4 separate regions of the Homo sapiens genome follow, and all the other regions are linked to region 3. Evidence: promoter capture Hi-C in 16 types of primary human blood cells and fetal thymus (Javierre and others, 2016). All regions are on one chromosome and are shown on one strand. The core of a region is centred on a gene start or on the middle of the fragment in contact, and the rest is flanking DNA. Distances in the headings are between cores, read along the strand shown. Region 1 overlaps LOC105370259 (a long non-coding RNA gene). Region 2 overlaps KLF12 (KLF transcription factor 12). Region 3 holds the start of DIS3 (DIS3 exosome endoribonuclease and 3''-5'' exoribonuclease). Region 4 holds the start of KLF12 (KLF transcription factor 12).

What was found. Contacts are between HindIII fragments. The CHiCAGO score rates a contact against its expected background, and 5 or more counts as called.
Region 1: a fragment that was not itself captured here is called in contact with the fragment with the promoter of DIS3 in region 3 in 2 of 17 cell types (fetal thymus and total B cells); the score reaches 7.1 in fetal thymus.
Region 2: a contact is called between a fragment that was not itself captured here and the fragment with the promoter of DIS3 in region 3, in 1 of 17 cell types (total B cells). The highest score is 6.9, in total B cells.
Region 4: the fragment with the promoter of KLF12 here is called in contact with the fragment with the promoter of DIS3 in region 3 in 1 of 17 cell types (fetal thymus); the score reaches 5.2 in fetal thymus.

The regions. Positions count from the first base shown.
Region 1 is chr13:74,289,727-74,294,388 of GRCh38, reverse strand. The region is part of intron 1 of LOC105370259 (a long non-coding RNA gene); the gene reads right to left. It also overlaps a transcript of KLF12 not described here. Among named protein-coding and RNA genes, the nearest start is that of LINC00402, 61 kb to the right of the region's middle. The HindIII fragment of the contact is 6,826 bases long and covers 1-4,662 here.
Region 2 is chr13:73,793,742-73,798,421 of GRCh38, reverse strand. The region is part of intron 5 of KLF12 (KLF transcription factor 12); the gene reads left to right. Among named protein-coding and RNA genes, the nearest start is that of LINC00393, 130 kb to the right of the region's middle. The HindIII fragment of the contact is 816 bases long and covers 2,363-3,178 here.
Region 3 is chr13:72,779,879-72,785,032 of GRCh38, reverse strand. DIS3 (DIS3 exosome endoribonuclease and 3''-5'' exoribonuclease) reads left to right here and starts at 3,133. Exons shown (of 21, transcript NM_014953.5): 1 at 3,133-3,428; 2 at 4,030-4,187. The coding sequence starts at 3,201. PIBF1 (progesterone immunomodulatory binding factor 1) reads right to left here and starts at 2,900. Exons shown (of 18, transcript NM_006346.4): 1 at 2,684-2,900; 2 at 1,312-1,610. The coding sequence starts at 1,563. RefSeq lists enhancers at 3,000-3,109, 3,027-3,941 and a silencer at 3,390-3,439. The HindIII fragment of the contact is 4,441 bases long and covers 1-3,566 here.
Region 4 is chr13:74,132,832-74,137,429 of GRCh38, reverse strand. It overlaps KLF12 (KLF transcription factor 12), which reads left to right and starts at 3,026. Exons shown (of 8, transcript NM_001400136.1): 1 at 3,026-3,458. RefSeq lists a silencer at 1,530-3,279 and enhancers at 4,289-4,338, 4,369-4,548. The HindIII fragment of the contact is 3,671 bases long and covers 1,647-4,598 here.

The sequences.
Region 1 (4,662 bases), core at 804-3,303, 1.5 Mb before region 3:
ACCTCCTTAAAAATTCTCTTATTAATTTGGGGGATTAGAAAACCAAACATGTGACATTATGTCATCTAAACCAGTGCTTCACTTAATGGGTCCGATGTACATGATTTGGATGATGGGTGCCTAAAAGCCCTGACTTCCCTACTACACAATCGGTGCATGTAACAAAATTGCCTTGTACCCAATAAAGTCATACAAATAAAAATAAAAATAAACTCCTGCTACTTACTCAAAGTGTGGTTCACAGACCAGCACATGGCTTCACCTAGAAGTTTTTGGCAATGCCAAATCTCATGCCCTACTCCCGGCATTCTGGAAAAATATGTATTATTTTAATAAGGTCCCTTTGACGGCTTAGTGATTGTAGATACTTTAAAGTTTAAGAAGCACTAATCTAAGACAACTAACATTGAGGGTAGTGGAGGAGTAAGAGGTGAGAGGAGATAGCCAATTTTCTTTAAAAATGGGCTGTACATTCAGAATTTCAATCATGACTCTATACACTTTTAAGAGCATTCTGGTGGTTAGCACTAATTTTATTTCATATTACGTTTACCATGTTCAGAAGTTTCTAGAAAAAGAAGCAGCCACAGGTGCTGACATGGCCAATATACAAAAGGCAGATGCTCCTTCAAATGCAGTGTTTTATAAAAGACTGCCAAAATCCAAGCTATAACTGGATGATTAGGTGGCATTTGAACTGCTCGTTTGGAATGTCAGCAGGGATAATGCTTACGTAAGCTGGATGCCATCTTATATAGTCCTTCAGTTACTGGGAAATAGAAATCCAGAAGAGAATCTATTTTATCATTATGATGGACTGAGAAAGAGAACAGAAAGATCTTAAAATATTCTGTGACACTTCCGTCAGTTCATTTCATACATATGCATATTAATATGTGTGTAGGTGTGTGTAATGTTGAGAATGTCTGGGATTCTTGAATTTACTATTATATCCTGCATTTACTAATCTGATCTCCAATTCTCATTTTTTCAGTCCCTCGATTGTACCCAAAAATTCGTGAGGATCACAGCCAATATGAACAGGTTTTGAGGGAGTTTGAAGGGGGAAAAAATAGTAGACCTCAGAAAGGGTACACCAGCTAAAAATCTTCACCCAGGATTTTCCCTGGAATCTCTTCTGGCCCAGCTTCCCACACCTCATCTACCCTAAAGAGCACTGGCACCCTTTGGGTAAAGAATACTAAAACTGTGTATTCTCATTGTCTTAACATCTCATTCGTATAATGTGATGGGTAAATTGAAATATTTCTGCTTGGCTCAATAAGAAAAGCTCATATACATTCTCAGCTTTGGTATGAGGCAGGGGTGTTCAGAGCCCCTTTCTGGCCATTGCACCTATGTGCCTGTTGTACCCCTGTCCTAAAGAACTTAAGAGTTCCTATTGCTGTCTTCATCAATGCTCATTAACAATGATTTTTAGGAATCTGCTATGTCCAAGCACTTTTCTAGGCTCTGGGCTCAGAAGCAAACAAAGATGCTACTCATGTGGACCTGACATGCTCAAGAGAGCAAAACAGATAATAAACAAATTAAAAATACAACATAAAATCATGTCTAGTGGCAATGGAAAAGCATAACATGGTGTTATGGGAAAGAGAGTCATAGGGAAGCCATTTCAGCCAGGGTGTTAAGTCAGATTTCTCTTGTTAATATTTGAACTGAGACCTGAAGAAAGTGACGAAGGTACACTTGGGAGGGGAAGCATTCCAGGCAAGGGGAGCTGCAAAGTAAAGTCCTCCAGCCAAAACATACTAGGCTTATTTGGGAAGTTGCAAGAAGGTTAGTATGGCCTGGATAGAGTATAGGAGAAAAGGAGTGACAAGAAATGATCAGTAAGGAGACAGGTCATGTAGATTCTGGAAGGACCTTATGGACATAACAAAGTTAAAACCACAAACATACAAAAAAAAAAAAAGAAAAAGAAACCCTTTCATTTACTGAGATAGGCACTATGCTAATAAAACATATATACTTTATTCAGTCTCATTCTCACAATCTTCCCACCCCATACCTGGGTATCATCATTATCCTTCAAGAGAACTGAAGTTTAGATAGATTAATTATAATGATCAAGGTTGCAAAGCTACTAATGGTTGGAGTTGGGATTTGAACTCAGGTCTGTCTGACACCAAAGGCCCTTGTACTCAACACCATGCTGTTACTAGAGAGAGAGCTCTTGAATCAAAATTCACATGCACTTTGTTGGTAGAAATACCAGGAAGTTCAAGTACAGTGGATACAGCTCTAGGTCCTTCTAACTTTAATAGAATGGTAGTCTATTCTCTACTTTTTACTGCAATTAAACTTAACTTTGGTCTCATTTCCCATGCTCTTAACACAGTGAGCATCTCGTTGAATGTCCAATGTCTACAATAATATTGTAAAGCATTTATTTAAACTATAAAATAATCAAATTTTACAACATCTAGCTAACCTGTGATCAGACTCTGCAAACAATAAGTTCTGATACACAGCTGAGAAGACATTTTGATTTCAAAAATAGTTGATATTAGCTACTGAATTTGAGGTATGGGTGCCCAAAATATCTGGTGCTTTCTACCTCTTCCTAATTTACATCATCTTTGCTGATTTGTGTGCCTGCTTTTCCAGATTTCTCTCACTAAGGTGTAGATACATATATGTATATCCAGTCAGGGAGGTCTATTCCATATATAGTCATCCTTTCTCATCTCATTCTCCTACACATGAACACTTTCTAGTCTTTTTCTGCCGGTTAAAATCCAGTTGCTCCTTTAATGCCCTGCCCTTCTCACTGGAGCATTTAATATACAGCCCTGCCTGTGGACTGGATTAACCTTCGCCATATATGTTCTGCTTCGCCAACTGACAATGAACAGACTGACCTTGTTGTCTATATCTCTGAGGATGTGACTTTGCCCAGAGAGCCATGCTTGGGGCCTCACTTGCCACCACAGATGATGAGACTTTTGAGCCTCAGCTTAAGATCACTACCAACACTTCTTCCTGGCCTCCCAATCACACTTGCATCTCATGCTGACCAGAACATTTATTTGAATGTTTCAGTTAGTTGAATAATTCCTAACTCATGCACAACTGATTTATCTAACTGTCAGCTTCATTATAAGGTAGTGTAGTTTTCAAACCTATTTATAGGCATTTCCTCAGAAAAGCCCAGGAATCTGAGTGACCTGAAGCACACATTTAATGGCACAAAACCCTAACTGATTTAAAAATAAAACCCACTTAGGACAAAAATAAACCAGGTAGGTTTTCCCTCCTCCAATGCCCTGTATCCTACAAACTGGTAAATTTTAGATCTAGTTCTTTTTAAGAAAGCTCTGCTCACTGGGGCAAAAAATTGTTGTTGTAGAATAAGTGGAATAAGTTTGTTTTCAGTTAGGCCAGTGGGACAATATTCAGCTAAGCATACTCTTTCTAGAAACACTTCAGTGAAAGTTCTGTCCAACTGTTTGTTTGTTCATTTATTTTAACAAAAAACAGACTTTTCCTATGTTGCGTTTGCTGTGCAAACGGAGCTAGCATCCAATGGCATGTAAATCAGGTATAAATTATAAAGGTTTTTATATTTGTCTTCAGGACAACAACGTTTAAAATACTCTGCCTTCTCCAACAGTTTGTTGAAGTGCAGAAGCTGAAAAAATTCTGGGCTTGTAAAGAAACTGCAATGCCTAAAACTCTCCAGAAGTACTCAGAATGACAGGGCTCTTAACCAATAATACGTGAGATTCACGGAACACATTGTCACTACTCAGCAAATAATAAGAGGCAGGTATAAGTATGACATCATTGAAATACAGTCTCATTGGCGGTTCCTCTGTGTGCTGGTTACTGCTCTATTTGTGGAAGCAGCAGCCTTATTCAAATTAACCTTTTCACGCAGAGGGGTGGAGGGAGGTAGTGAGTAATATGCGGCAGTCTTTTCCCTGAAGGTGATGTGCTCTCAAATTCGCTTTGCATTGCCTTTGAGCAGACAAAATAAAAATAAATTCAGCTGTGGCAGTGTTTCACAGGGATAATAGCTGCTGGAATTAGATCAGGTCAGTGGAAAGGAATGAAAAAGAATCTGTGGCTGAGTTCAAGCAAATTTCTGAATTTTATTCTAGCTTTTATTCTTTCCCCCTTATTATTTCTCCGTGTCTCATTCGTGGTGTCAACGGCTGCAGAGACTAAACTTGGAATCCCTCCAATTGGCCATTTGAGAGGGAAATTTCTTTGAATATTAATACCTCTAGCCCATGCTGTCTGGGGGTCTAGCAGACAGGTCAGATTAATGGATGGTTTTCTGGCATTGTACAAATACTCAGGAGTATGAAGCTGATGAGATAATTTAATCACATTTACTGTAGTCTGTGAGGAACTGTCATCCTGTATCCTGTTACTGTTATATAATATAGGGCCTCCAGCTACATCAAGGATACACAAGAGAGCCCACTCAAGTTTTTAACTCTTAGGATTTTGTTTTAACTTATGAGGGCTCCGATATAAGGTGGCTGTCCTTTAATGATATATCTCTTCCTTTCCCAGTTTAGTTTCTGGGACTTCACACAACTTTGCCTAAATAAAATGCTTTGGGTCTTTGGCCTTATTTTATTTTCTCTCTTTAAACTTCTGTTTCACTGTCTATTGTCATCTGTCAAA
Region 2 (4,680 bases), core at 1,521-4,020, 1.0 Mb before region 3:
CCACTTGTCAATTTTTGCTTTTGTTGCAATTGCTTTTGGTGTCTTTGTCATTAAATCTTTGCTTATTCCTATGTCCAGGTTGGTATTGCCTAGGTTGTCTTTCAAGGTTTTTATAGTTTGGGGCTTTACATTTAAGTCTTTAATCCATCTTCAGTTAATTTTTGTATATGGTGTAAGGAAGGGGTCAAGCTTCACTCTTCTACATATGGCTGGCCAGTTTTCCCAGCACCATTCATTGAATAGGGTGTCTTTTCCCCATTGCTCGTTTCTGTCAGCTCAAAAATAATTTCTTTGGTAAGAGATGTAGCATTGGTTGTTTTAGCCCCACATTTTTACCCACGCTTTCTGGTTGGCTTCTGCTTTGAAACAAATTTGGGGTTTCATACATCTTGCTGCATATTAGAAATCAATATAATGGTTTAAAGGGATTATATGGTAAATTATTAGTCATGAAAATGAGTAATAAATTGGTTAAACGCCAAAAAACAATCAGGAAGAAGAATGTGTCGGAAGTTATTGAAGTAGTTCAGATGTGATTGACTCTGGGCCTGGACCAGGCCTCTAGTGGCGGGTTTTGAGCAAGTAACGATAACAATAACTCTAAGTTTAGGATTAAAAAATGTAATGCTTTTTTTTTTTTTTTTTTTTTTTTGAGACAGGATCTTGCTCTCTTGCCCAGGCTGGAGTGCAGTGGCATGATCATAGCTCATTAAAGCCTCAAACTCCTGGGCTCAAGGGATCATCCTGCCTGAGCCTCACTAGTAGCTAGAATTACAGGTGCATGTCACCATGCCCAGGCAATTTTTTAAATTTTTGTAGAAATGGGGTTTTGCTGTGTTGTCCAGGCTGGTCTCGAAATCGTGGCCTCAAGTGATTCTCCTGTCTCAGCCTCCCAAAATGCTGGGATTATAGGCGTGAGCCACTGCACCCGGCCTCCCCTACATGTTAAGATTGCTCTTTACTGCATTCTGTCTTGAAGGGAAAAGATTTATGATTTGTATTTAAAGGAAGAATTGATAGTTTTGGTGATAACTAAACTCTAAAGAATAAGATGAAGAAAGAAGGAATGGCTATGCCTTTGAACTGAATAATGTAGCTAAGAGAGGTGAGTGAAGGAGTTTGATACAATAATGAAACATCCAAGTGGAGCTCTTCTGTTGGTATTTGGAGATCTAGAACTGGAACTGATCAGGAAGGATGGGAAATATAGACAGGAAGTCAGTGGCAGAAGGACGATCCCTGAGGTTATTTTATTTTTATTTTTTGAGGTATTTTTTACATACAATAAAACACTTATTTTAAAGGTGCAGTTCAAAGAATTTAACAATTGTATACTCTCATGTAAGATCTGAACATTTCCATCACCCAGAAAGGCCTTGTGTCCCTGTCCAATAAATGCACTGCTTCCTCCAAACCCCTAGACAGCCACTTTCTGATGCCTTTTACCACCAGTTAGTTCTAGATCTTCATGTATGGAATCGTGTTCTTTTTTTTCAGCCTTCTTTCATTGCATAATGTTTTTGAGATTCTTGCATGTTGTTGCATTGCTAAATAGTATTCCATTGTGTGGGTATAACATAATTTACCTATTCACTTCTTGATGGACATTTGGATTGTTTTTAGTTTGAGACTATTATAAGGCTAGATGAAGGTCTGTGTGTGCAACTTTTCTGTGGACATATGTTTTTATTTCTCTTAGGTAAATACTGAAGAAGGGGATTGCTAGCTCAAAGGTAGATGCGTGTTTATCTTTAGAATAAACTACCAAAGAGTTTTCTATAAGATTTGTTCAATTCACAGGAACAGATATCAAGGACCCAGTTTGGGAGGAAGGCCTGCAGTAAGGAGACAGATGAAGGAAGAAGATTTAATAACACACACACACACACACACACACACACACACACACACACAGCACAGGGGCAGGGAGAAAGAGACAGACAGGGAGAGAGGGAGAAAGCTTAGAGAAGCACCACGAAAATGGGTTCCATCTTTCTGAGGTTCCAGAAGAATAAAATGTGAGAAGCCTGTTTAGTTAGTTGAGGGAAAAAAAGTGAACTAGAGATAGTACAGATCTAGTTTAGTTATGAAAAGGACAAACAAGCCAGGATATATAGCAGGTTAATAGGAAGGAATTGTCAGTGCTAACGGAGTAGGAACCTAAGATTCATGGGGAGGCAAATGTAGAAATGTGTAAGGGAGATGAGAAAAATAAGAATGACAGTCAGAGGAGTGAAGGTCATTTCTGTACACTAGAGATCGATTGGAATGAAGAGAAAATTTTAGACAGTTCCTCCAATAATTGCGTTTGAGAAGACTCCCTAATTACAACATGTTTTTGTGTATGTCTGTAAAATAAGCTTGCTTATCTGATAATTATCTGGATAGATTGATGTAGGCATCAATTTATGAAGTTTGACCCATTCAAAATATACTTATTAAAAGCCCAGTATATGCCAGAGTTATTTTTATCTCCTCCTCTCTGTTTACTATTTATTCTAGGTACATCATCTTTATCTTCTTATCCATATGAACTTTAAAAGTTCTCCTTCCTTCATCTGATCTGTTAGATTCTAAAAATATTTATGAATAAATACTTGTAAATTGTAAACCCAAAGTTTATGTTGAGTCTTGGTTTGTCCCGAGTAGAAAACAAGGAGCTTTTCTTTTGTAACAGTCCTGTCTCCATATTTTATAGCTCTCTAACCTTCCGTCTCTTATCATTTGGAAAAACAAGAGTTTCTTAAGTGCTTTTCAGATTTCTGTACTTGTAAAGTGCCCAGGTATTATTTAGTTAATTGTTTATATTGCATAAAACTAGGATCATAAAATCAAAATTGCAGATAAACATTACTGATTTATCCAGATTCCTACCATGTAACTTCCAGTGAATGCGTTTGCATTGTTCTATAAAATGGCATCACTGACACCAGAAGGAAATTCTCATACTTCATTCTCATATTTCATTTATTCAGTGTGTATTGAACATTTGCCATATGTAAGATACCAAGCTAGGTTTGTGGAGGAGACAGGTAGAGAATATCATCCTTAACATGACAAGAGGCATTTCCTTTGGTGTCCATTATACCTAGGGTGTTTGTATTCAAAGAGAATTTCCAGTGAATTTAAATTTTTTTGTGCATTACAGTAATTTCTGCTCTCTTTCATGGGAGAAGCTTACATTTATTGAGCATTCAATACATGCCAAAAATCAGCAGTCAGTGTGGAAGGTCTGCGTGGATCAGGCAGAGCCATCTTTATCATGGGGAAAAATAAGATTCAAGATTGTCTCATATGTCGTCCCAATTCTGTGCAGAAAAAATCATGAAAACTTTCTTTTTAGCAAATCTCATGCTTGTAAAATCCAGACTTTGTTGATTTTGAAACCAGTCATAAAGAGATAGAGTGGAACAGTAATAACCTGGCTCTATCTAGGAGACAGGAGCACAAAGACGCGTCTGTACTCCTTGTTTCATTTTAAGACTAGGGTCAGATATCCCATGTGGTGCAGAGCACAGAGAACATAAGCAATCTGATCCATTTGTTAATGTAATGGCTTCTTTATTTTGTGGGCTATTTACAAAGAAGTTGAACCTTGCATAGGGACAGGTTAATTTAAACATCCCTTCATGATCTTTGCACTCTGGAAAATATTCTTTAAAGAAAGAATATAGGGTAATTGAAGATGGTGAAAAGATCAGAATGACACACTGACAGCTGGGAAGGGTTAAGTTTTTGAAATTACTTCATCAGGAGAAGGGGAACTTAAGGCTACTTTCAAAGTCATCCTTTAAATATATTGAATATTGTCAGATAACAGGCAGGGTTGAACTGTGTTTCAACTGTAATATATATAAAGTCAGGATTCCACATAGAAAAGTTAAATGTTTTCTGTACTAAACTATACCCACAGGTATGTATAATTATGTATTCGTAACCTTATTATTTTATTTGTATCTTTTGAGACAGGGTCTTGCTCTGTCGCCCAGGCTGGAGTGCAGTGGCGCAATCTTGCTCACTGCAACCTCTGCCTCCTGGGTTCAAGCGATTCTCATACCTCAGCCTCCTGAGTAGCTAAGACTACAAGCGCATACCATCACGCCTGGCTAATTTTTGTATTTTTAATAGAGACAGGGTTTCGCCATGTTGGCCAGGCTGGTCTCGAACTCCCGACCTCAGATGATCCGCCTGCCTCGGCCTCCCAAAGTGCCGGGATTACAGGCATGAGCCATCACACCCGGCCTGTCACCTTTTTAAAAAGGCTATCCCAGTATGTGTTGAAGAAGCAGATTTTCAAAGGTGGCTTGAGGAGCTGATAACCCCCTCACTGCCAAGTAGTGGACCTGGAAGTGTTGCCTCACCTTTGTGGATTTTTTTTTCCTGCAACCAGAAAACAAGGAGTTTGGACTAAATTATGTCTTAGGTCCTATTCAATCTGTGATGGAATGAGTTAGCGATTTATCAACATACTTGAAAAACCTGAGCCCTCCTGTGTAAATATAACTTCTTGGGACCACCAGTTGTCCTTTGTCATTTGGTCATGTGGTTTGTGTTTTCACTATCATGACGCACCGTGACTGTGTCTGAAATGACAGATTCACCTTAAGTAGGAGAGTATGGATGTTGTGATTTAGCACAGTTAGATTCACATGTATCTGTTGGTTCTTTAATAATCAGTTA
Region 3 (5,154 bases), core at 1,884-4,383:
GGCATGGTGGGGAGCACTTGTAATCCCAGCTACGTGGGAGACTGAGGCAGGAGAATTGCTTGAACCCAAGAGGTGGAGGTTGCAGTGAGCCAAGATTGTGCCACTGAACTCCAGCCTGGGTGACAGAGCAAGACTGTCTCCAACAACAACAACAAAAAACAACAAAATACCTCATATGTTAGATTTTTTAAATTGAGCCTACAAAAGTAATTTATCCATATCTACGTTTAAATCACTCCATATTTCAATACTTAAATTATTATTATTATTTTTTTGAGATAGGGTCTCACTCTGTTACCCAGGCTGGAGTGCAGTGGTACGATCTCAGCTCACTGCAATGTCTGCCCCCGGATTCAAGTGATTCTCCCGCCTCAGCCTCGGAAGTAGCTGGGCCTGCAGGCGCAGCACCACTACGCGGGGCTATTTTATTTTTTTAGTAGCAAGGGTGGTCTCACCATGTTGCTCAGGGTAGTCTCGAACTCCTGAGCTTGGAGCAATCCACTGGCCTCAGCATCCAAAGTGCTGGAATTACAGGTGTGAGCCACCGCACTTGGCCTCCAATTATTATTATTATTATTATTACTAGTTTTTGAGAGTCTTGCTGTGTTGCCCAGGCTGGAGTGCAGTGGCACGATTGTGGCTCACTGCAAACTCTGCCTCCTGGGTTCAAGCAATTCTCCTGCCTCAGCCTCCCGAGCAGCTGGGATTACAGGCACCCACCATCATGGCTGGCTAATTTTTTTTTTTTTTTTTTTTTAAGTAGAGCTGGGGTTTCACAATGTTGGCCAGGTTGGTCTCAAACTCCTGACCTCAGGTGATCCCAACTGACAGATAAAACTGTGTGTATATGTCATGTACAACATAATGTTTTGAAGTATACGTACATTGTGAAATGGTTAACTCTAGCTAATTAAAAAATGTTTTACCTCACATAGTTATTTTAGTAATGAGAACACTTAACATCTGCTGTGTTTTTCAAAAACACAATGTTTTCCAAGATTACAATGTCATTAACTATAGCCACCATGCTGTCCAATAGATCTCTTGAATGTATTCCTCCTATTCAACTGTAATTATGTATCCTTTGACCAACATCTCCCCAACCCTCCTTCACCCCTAACCATGCCAGCCCTTGGTAACCACCATTCTATTCTCTACTTCTATGAACACCAAAATTATTTAAAGGCTGTACTTGTCAAGAAATATAAATGTATCATTTCAAGTTCAGATAATGTGTGTATTTAATTCTTATTTACCTGCCGTTTGAAGACAATAAAGCATATAGAACACAAAATTTAAACCTGATCTTACCTTTGTAAGATAATCCACTTTCAAATTGTCGATCATCATAGTTTTCTGGGATAGCTCAATTTTTAGTAACTGAATATTATGAAGTAGTTCTTTTCGTTCAATTAGCTGCCTGGTGATTCTGACTTTGCCCTCTCGCTCTTCTGATGAGGAAATATCATCCGTAGGAACTGTTGTTTCTAAACTAATATCTTCAGATTCCAGAGAACTAGAGATGTTCACTTTTTTTGACTCCTTTGAAATTTTTCGAGACATTTTTATTATTATGGATCAGTTTTCTTCTCTAATTTGATTTTAATATTCTGTAGGTTAAAAAACATTAATTCAAATGTACTATAAAATTAACTACAGAAATCATGGACTGTATTAAAGAGAGACTAAGGATTCCTTAAATAAATATTAGGCAATTTAGTGCATCCCAAATCTAGAACAGATTATTGCAGTTAAGTTAATGCTCAAATCAAACACATTAATTCCTAATATGAAGTCAGCCTTCGAGAAACTTAAAAAAACAGTTCCTGCGGGGAGGAATCTTACTTGGAGGAAACAAAGAAATGTACAAGATGAAGAAAAAAGCCCATTATAATCAAGAATGGCACCACTAAAACCAACACATGCTCAAAGATAACAGAAATCACGTCTGAGTTGGTCAGGGAAACGTTACACAGAGGTAGCACTTAGAATCTTTAAAGATTTGGACAGGCATGGTAAAAAGGAGAAATCATGCAGTTATTAATGATACGTAAGTGGAAGTAAAAAAACAAAGCCAAGTCTTGGAATAGTTACTCCTTTCACCGCCCCCCCAACACAAACACAAACACACACACACACACACACACACACACACACGCCCTTAACGATCAAGACTGGAAGGCCTTAAATGTCAAAATAGGGTTGGATTTTATTCTACAGGCAATGAGGCATCATTGAAGATGTTTTAAATAGGGAAAACGGGGACAAAAACATTTTTTATAGATAGCAGAATGAAAACAACAGGATATAAGAAAAATTCAAGAAATTCTAAATAGAACTTACTTCTAACTCTCTCATAAGAATGTTAGCAACTACCTTGTTTTAATACCTCATGATATAACAAATTATGCTATTAAATATTTCAGTTTTTCTAAACTGAATGATAAGGAAAGGTGTGTGGAGGGGAAACAGCGAGAACTATACTAAGATCGGCCTCCCTCCTTCTTTTTGAAGGGAAATAGGTAAGAAAAAGTGAATTCAAAGACAAATTCTCTCCTCGATTACAAAGGGCCCGAGACGGGGACTGCCTATACACTCGGCGTGAAAATTAAGCCCCAAACTTGGCAGCTCGGGGGATTCCTTGCCCCACGCGGGAAAGAAAGCGATGATAGTCGCAAGTTACCTCGAAAGTGTCAATTACTCCACACTGAAGCCTTGACCAGCAGCCAGTGCAGACACCGAGGGACCAAAGGCGTCTCCGGTCGGAAGCACAAGGTTGCAGGCCCTCAACAAGGGATTTCAAGGCAGGGGACCGTTAGGACCCGTAACCAAGACAACCATCTCCGCACCCGCAAGGAGGACAGAACCAGCACTCCCACAAGCCGCCGGAAGTCAACTCTCCCGGATGTTCCGAGGAGCGGAAAGCAACACACGTTGTGAGGTGGCGTCCAGAAGGAAGCCCCGCCTAGGCCACGGGCGGAAATGGCTCCTCGCCTTGCTTTGCCGCCCCTCCCCACTCTCGCCCAATCCCCGCGGCCGTCAGAGAGCCAACCAATGTTTATCTCGGCATTTTCCCGCGAGAAGTGTTACTAATATCCGGGAATGGAAAGGGAAGAACCTCCGGGGTTAGGCGTATTCTAGATTGACGCCTTTTGCTGGAAGAGCGCTGCTGGGGTTAGGATTCTGCGCGGCGAGGCAAGATGCTCAAGTCCAAGACGTTCTTAAAAAAGACCCGGGCGGGCGGCGTGATGAAGATCGTGCGCGAGCACTACCTGCGAGACGACATCGGCTGCGGTGCGCCCGGGTGCGCAGCGTGTGGAGGGGCGCACGAGGGGCCGGCCCTGGAGCCGCAGCCCCAGGACCCGGCGAGCAGCGTCTGCCCGCAACCGCACTACTTGCTGCCCGACACTAATGTGTTACTGCACCAGGTGCGTGGGCGGGCGAACCGCGGACAGCGCGGCCCCACGGGGACAAGGGGGTATGACAGGGAAACTGAGGCCCAGGGAGGCGGGTCTTTGGCAGTGTCACATACCTAGCGAAAGGGAAACCCCCTCGGGACCGAAGCTTCCTGTTCCCCAGGCCGAGGTTCTTTTCCTTGTGCTTTAAAAAATTTAGTTCTTGGAGTCGTAGTTCAGACACGTTATTTTTCTAACTCCTGGTGTCTCTTCTGCCTTAGATTGTAAGTGCCTGGAGGCCGGGGACCTGGGCTTCTGTGGCCTCCAGCCTGCGACTCCCAGGCAGCTTGTAAGTGCCTAGGAACAAAAAACTATGTGGGCCAACGTATTCCTTTATTAATACCCTTAATTCTACGAAGTCTTGTGATTGGTCTGTTTAAGTGTGCTTTTTTTAATAGATCTGAAGGGTTTAGTGACTATTGTCTCGTTTTCTATAGCCAAATAGCTTCTTGGCTTAACTTATTCAGTGTTTTTAAAACATAAAGTATTTATGCCCAACATAAAACAGGATTTTATGTTTGACAGAGCTATTTACAAATGAATATAGGAAAAATTAACTTTATCTTTCTTTAAGATTGATGTTCTTGAGGACCCTGCCATCAGGAATGTAATTGTGCTACAAACAGTTCTTCAAGAAGTGAGAAATCGCAGTGCCCCCGTATATAAACGCATCCGAGATGTGACTAATAACCAAGAGAAGCATTTCTATACTTTCACTAATGAGCACCATAGGTAGGAGGAATATTACGTTAAATATCAGAAAACCACAGGATTAGCAAAATTCGGGAGAGGGTTCCTGTGAGTAATTTATGACATTGTCAGAAGATAAGTGATAGATTTCATACCTTATTTAATTCTTACATGGCTGTGCAGAAGATAATGCTAAGTGGATCTCTCTAAGGTCACACAGGCATTGATGGGCTCAAGCCTAAAACCAAGGTCTGCTGACTCCTAGACTACAATAGGTACTTTAATTTCCAAAATGTTTTCATTTTGAATTGGTTTTAGCATGAGTTGGACCATAGAATCTTGGAAGATGAGATTTGCTTAAGTTCCTGGAATACCATATTATGTGAACAACTAACAGAGGGTAATAAAATATATGAGTTTGTGAAGTTTCTATTTTGTTTAAAAATAGAAAGTAGATTTATTCTTAATGGTCTTTTTAAAAGTTTAATACTTTGCAGCTGATTACATTGAGCAAGATTAGGTTAAGGAATAGAATTCTTTTTTTTTTTTTTTTTTTTTTTTTGAGATGGAGTCTCACTCTGTCACCCAGGCTGGAGTGCAGTGGTGTGATCTCTGCTCACTGCAACCTCCACCTCCCAAGTTCAAGCGATTCTTCTGCCTCAGCCTCCTGAGTAGCTGGGATTACAGTCACGCACCACTATGCCAGGCTAATTTTTGTATTTTTAGTAGAGACAGGGTTTCACCATGTTGGTCAGGCTGGTCTCGAATTCCTGACCTCGTGATCCACCTGCCTCAGCCTCTCAAAGTGGTGGGATTACAGGCATGAGCTACCGTGCCTGGCCAGGAATATAATTCTTTGTTGTGCTTTTAGATTCAAGACCTTTGAACTCAGTGTGTGGTCTCAAAAATATGATATTGCCTATTACGTTATATTACATAAATAATCTATGATGAGTATGGTACTTTTATTGGATTAGATCAGGGCTTCTCAATCTTGGCATTATAGATA
Region 4 (4,598 bases), core at 1,777-4,276, 1.4 Mb before region 3:
AATGAAGTTTTTATATATAGTTAGGGAAATGGGTTATCATTCTTTATCAAAATCATCTTGGTTTTAAACAGGATTGAAGCCACATAGTATTGGATTCGACAGATACTTTCAACCCCCAAATTCTATGACCGTACTTTCTCGCTACACATTCTTTTACATGGTCCTCTTGAATTAAGGATGAAATAAATTTGCCATCTTTACATTTTCTGACTTTTCACATCTCTGCAAACACAGAGGTAGAGAGGAAAAAGGTCTAAACATTAAAAATCCGCACCTTTGCCAAGGTAGTGTACTTTTCCCTATCTTCTTCCCTTCCGTCCACACCTTACTTTTCTTTAAATCTAAATTCTATATGGAGATAGAATTACATGAACTAGTTTGGAAACGCATGCGTGTGTACACACACACACTCCTCTAGTGATCTCCGTTATCATCCATGCTTTGTATTATTTCAAATGTTTTTGCTCTTTTACACGCACCCCAAGTCCACACAATGAAGTGATTCTCTCTTCTAAACCTGTTTTTCTCTTTTCTCCTTTTCCTTTTCATAGCTAGGAAGTTGCCTTAAGATTTCTACTCCATATCTGTCAACAATTTTTAAAATCTGCATCTTTTCCCCCCAATGCTTGATGTACTTTTTTTTTTTTTTAACCACACAGGGTATCCAGACTCTAGATACTAACCTTGACCTACCCCTAGTTTCCTTATCCCTCTGGAATGGATTCTTGTAGTTTGTTTTCTATCTTTCATCACTCTCCTAACAAGCCCGTGGCTTATGCCATAGGAAGGCAGTGCAGTTTGCTTTTCCACGTGCAGAAGCACTCGCTATAGAATATATTTATGGTCTATCCGCCACTCAGCTCACTCGAGAAAGAGCTGTTAGTACAAGAACTGCCACGATGACATAATTTCTTACAGCATCCTTCCACCCTTACAGTGAAACTCCCTTCCTTCACTCCCTGCCCCACCTAGAGGGAAACTTCACAGTGATTCTAGTAGAGGCAAGTTTCTCGTTGAAATCCTGCGCAGTTGTTGATATTCTGCTGCTTTTCAAACTTGTGTTTTCACGTCGTTTCCATCCGGGTGTAGTGGAGTGTAAGGGGCTGTTTACCCTAGGCCCAGGATCGGATCAGGGAGTGGGAGTTGCGGCTGCATTCCCCGGAACAGAGACCGCACCGCAGCAACCACCAACCCCTCACCCCCGAGTCCCACTGGGTTCCCGACGCCCTCGCTGCGCCCGCGCCTTCCCGCTCCCGCCGCTGAGGCTACTTCACTCGAGCAGTGCTCCACAAATTTCAGACATTTCTTCCTCTTCGAAACCTCAAGACCAGGACAGACCCCTCCTCTGAATCCTGCTGCCTTCCTAAGACGCATCTTAGGCTGTGGGACCCCTCCTCTAGGTTGGACCACCCATCCCATTTTCCCCAGAACCTAGGAGTGGCAAGAGGCAGAGAACGCACCAGGCAGACGCCGCCTTTGTTGTCATTAGGAACGCACACCGCGCCTGAAGTGGCTGGAAACCGCCACACCGATGGGGAGCCCAGCTGGCCCTGGCTCACATTCGTGCCTTCGTTCTCATTTCCTGTTTCTCGGCCTCTCCCTTGTTTCTCTTCCCACCCCACTCCACGCCACAGTACAGCAAAGCTTTCTCTCTGCACACAAACTTCCCCTTCCCGGCCTTCCCACAGCCCTGGCGATTTCCCACGCGGGGCGGGCCGGGCCGGGGGCGCGGGGCAGGGGAATACTGTCGTGCCCGGAGCGCCGCGCTCACCTAGGATGGTGAGGAGGCGGGCCCACAGCCTCCCGCCTCCGTCCGCCGCGCGCCCCGCCCGCCCGGCCGCTTCCGCCCCGTCTGCTCCCCGCCCCCGCCGACCCTCCGGCTCGGCGCTGACCCCGCGCCCTCCGAGCCGCCGCGGGAACTGCAGGGCCGCCCGGCCGCCTCCTCCCTCTCCCGCCCCACAATCCCGCGGATCCGCTCCCCGGGGCGCGGAGGCGGGGAGGGAGGGGCTGCCGGGGAGAGCGTCAAGGACTCGGCTCCGGGCCGTCCGCTTCTTGGGGCTCCGCTCTGGGCGTGGGGCAGTGGAGCTGGACTCCCTTCCCCGCCGCCCCCGGGCCCCGCGGGGGTCTGCAGATCCCGCTTCCTCTGCCCCAGTCCTCCAAGTTTGCGTGCTTTCCCACAGAACTGGCGCAGGCAGGGGCCCCTTCGCTGGGGTGGCGAGGCCAGGCGCGCATCTCCGCCTCGCCCCCATTCATCCCGCCAAGGTGAAGCGCAGGGAAAAGGGGCGCCCCCGCTTCGCCCGCAACGTGCGTCGCTCCGGAACCCAAACAATGACTCCCCTGCCTGCCGCGCCCGGCCCTCCGCCCGCCCCACCGGCGCGCGGGGGGCACCGCCCGCGGGGCTGCCCCTGCCTGACCCCATTGTTGCCCGGCGCGGGCGATGCCCGGCGCCCAGGGGCGGTCCCCGCGAGCTGCCCCACAGTCCCGGCCGGCTCCGCCCACACCTTTCCAAGTTCGCTGGCGGGCGAGCCGCGGGGACGACCCGGGCGACAGCCCCCTCCCTCCACTGCGCGCCCCCACCCGGGCGGGTGCGGCGAGGGGTGGGGGCCCAAGCGGGCTGCACGCTTTTTGGGTCCCCGAATTCTCCTAAGCCTGTCTGGCGCGCTCTGACACAAAAGAGGAGACTTTCTCGCGGCTCGGCGCGAGTCCTTGCCCAGCGAGTTGCTCTCCAGGGGTCCCTCCCGCCGCAAGCCCCCGCGGGCCCCCTCGGCCGACGACTCCCCGAGCTCCCAGGGCCATGTGTGGGTTATTTGGGGTGCCGCAGCAAAGTGGTGCAGGTGAAAGGGAAGCGCTGCCGAGGCCCGGGGCCGGAGGGCGGGGGCAGGGGTGGGGCGGGGTGGGGCGGGGTGGAGGCGCCGCGGACCCAGCCCGGCGGTCCGGGCGGGGAGGCGAGGGCCGGGCAGTGGGTGTTGCCTTCTACCTCTGCGAGCGGGGAGGGGTTAGTTTCCCACAGGGGATTTCAACCATCACACTCAGAGCCCGCCTCCTAATCCTCGGGCGGAGCGGCTCGGGGGCCCCATTTTATGGCAATAAAGCGACTTAGCGCCTGCTGAGCGAGCCCCTCCCCGCCGCCGCCCCCGCCCTCGGCCCCACCCCGGGGCTCGCCGGCAGCGGCGGGGCTTTGTTTCTGGGGAGGAGGACCCGGAGCTCTTTTGTTTGGGGGTTTCTTGTTTTCGGCCCCCCCCCTCACAGCACCCCACCCCACCCCACCCCAAGCGCCTCTCCGGTTTCCTGAGCTGCGGGCTGCGAGGGAGGAGAAGCGGCGTCCTGCAACCCCCTCGGCTGGGCCCCGGGGTAATTCGATGCGGGCCTGGCGAGGCTCCCCACACTAGACCGGGGCTCGCAACTCGGCAGCCTCCACCCACCGGCCCACCCTACATTTAGCGCATCATGTGATCCGGGTAAGTCATTTGCAAGTACAACAGTTCCCCGGGTTGCCCCCCATTCATTTCCTGAGAACTGCAGAGAGCCGCTGAGAGGCTCTGCGTGTGCGTGTGCGCGGGTGACGCCGTGTGTGTGCGAGTGTGTGTGTGTGTGTGCGCGCGCGCGTGTGAGAGAGAGAAAGGGAGAGAGAGAGGGGGACTCTGTGTGAGGGAAAGAAAACAATTTCTCCTGCTCTGCAGCTTCTGTTCAGGTCTGTGCCGATTCCGTTTCTTATCAAAATAAACAACCCCCTCCTCTTTTTTTTTTTTTTTTGCCATCCCAAATCAGACCGTATTCTCTTAACGTGTTTTATTTTCCTTCTGTCATCTGCTCAAGTTAAATCATTTTGGTTGGTCTGTGTTCTTAAAGGGGGAAAGTGCTGGGAAGCGGGAGGGGGCCGGGGAAGGGCGATGCTGTTGCAAAGCAAGTAGCGTCGGTCGGATTCGTGGAGAAGAAAGAAGGAGGTTTCTTCCCCACCTCCCCTAATTTTTTTTTTCCAGAAGAAGTTATCAAGTAACGTGAATTAAGCAAGTGTTTTTCTACCCCTAGTGGAATTGTTGGTTGCAGTGTTTGCCTGACAGTTGCCAAGGATGTGAAATAAAACCCCAGGGCTGAACTTGGGGGGGAGGGGGGGCTCGTGGAAGTAGTTGGCCCCCCGGCCTCGAGCGGGGTGGATGAATAGCTCCGCACCGGGACCGTGTGGGCTGTGTGTGCGCGCTGGAGAGAGTGGAGGGGAAGGGGTTAAGGCGGAGATGACACTGCTGGCATGAATAGTGCTCCTGGTGCTACATTCATTATTGTCTCTGGTCGTAATGATGTGTAACTGTCACTTGCTACAGTGCCTGGTCCATGCAAGTAGCCAGGGGCTGGCCGGTGGCTGTTATTTTCAATTACGGGGGACCTGGCCGGAGTTGACAAGGGGCAACTTTGTACGTCCACCCGGGCCGGGAACCCGCAGAGCCGGCCTGGGAGCCACTTCTTGCCTCAGAAGCTCACTCTGAGGGTTCAGACTTGACCTCCGCGACATTAGTTGGTGTTCACGTTAGATGCTCCCCTACGGGGAGAATCAGTCCTGCTTTTGTTGGGTAGCGAGCTGTCTGCAAGAACTTTGAAAACTT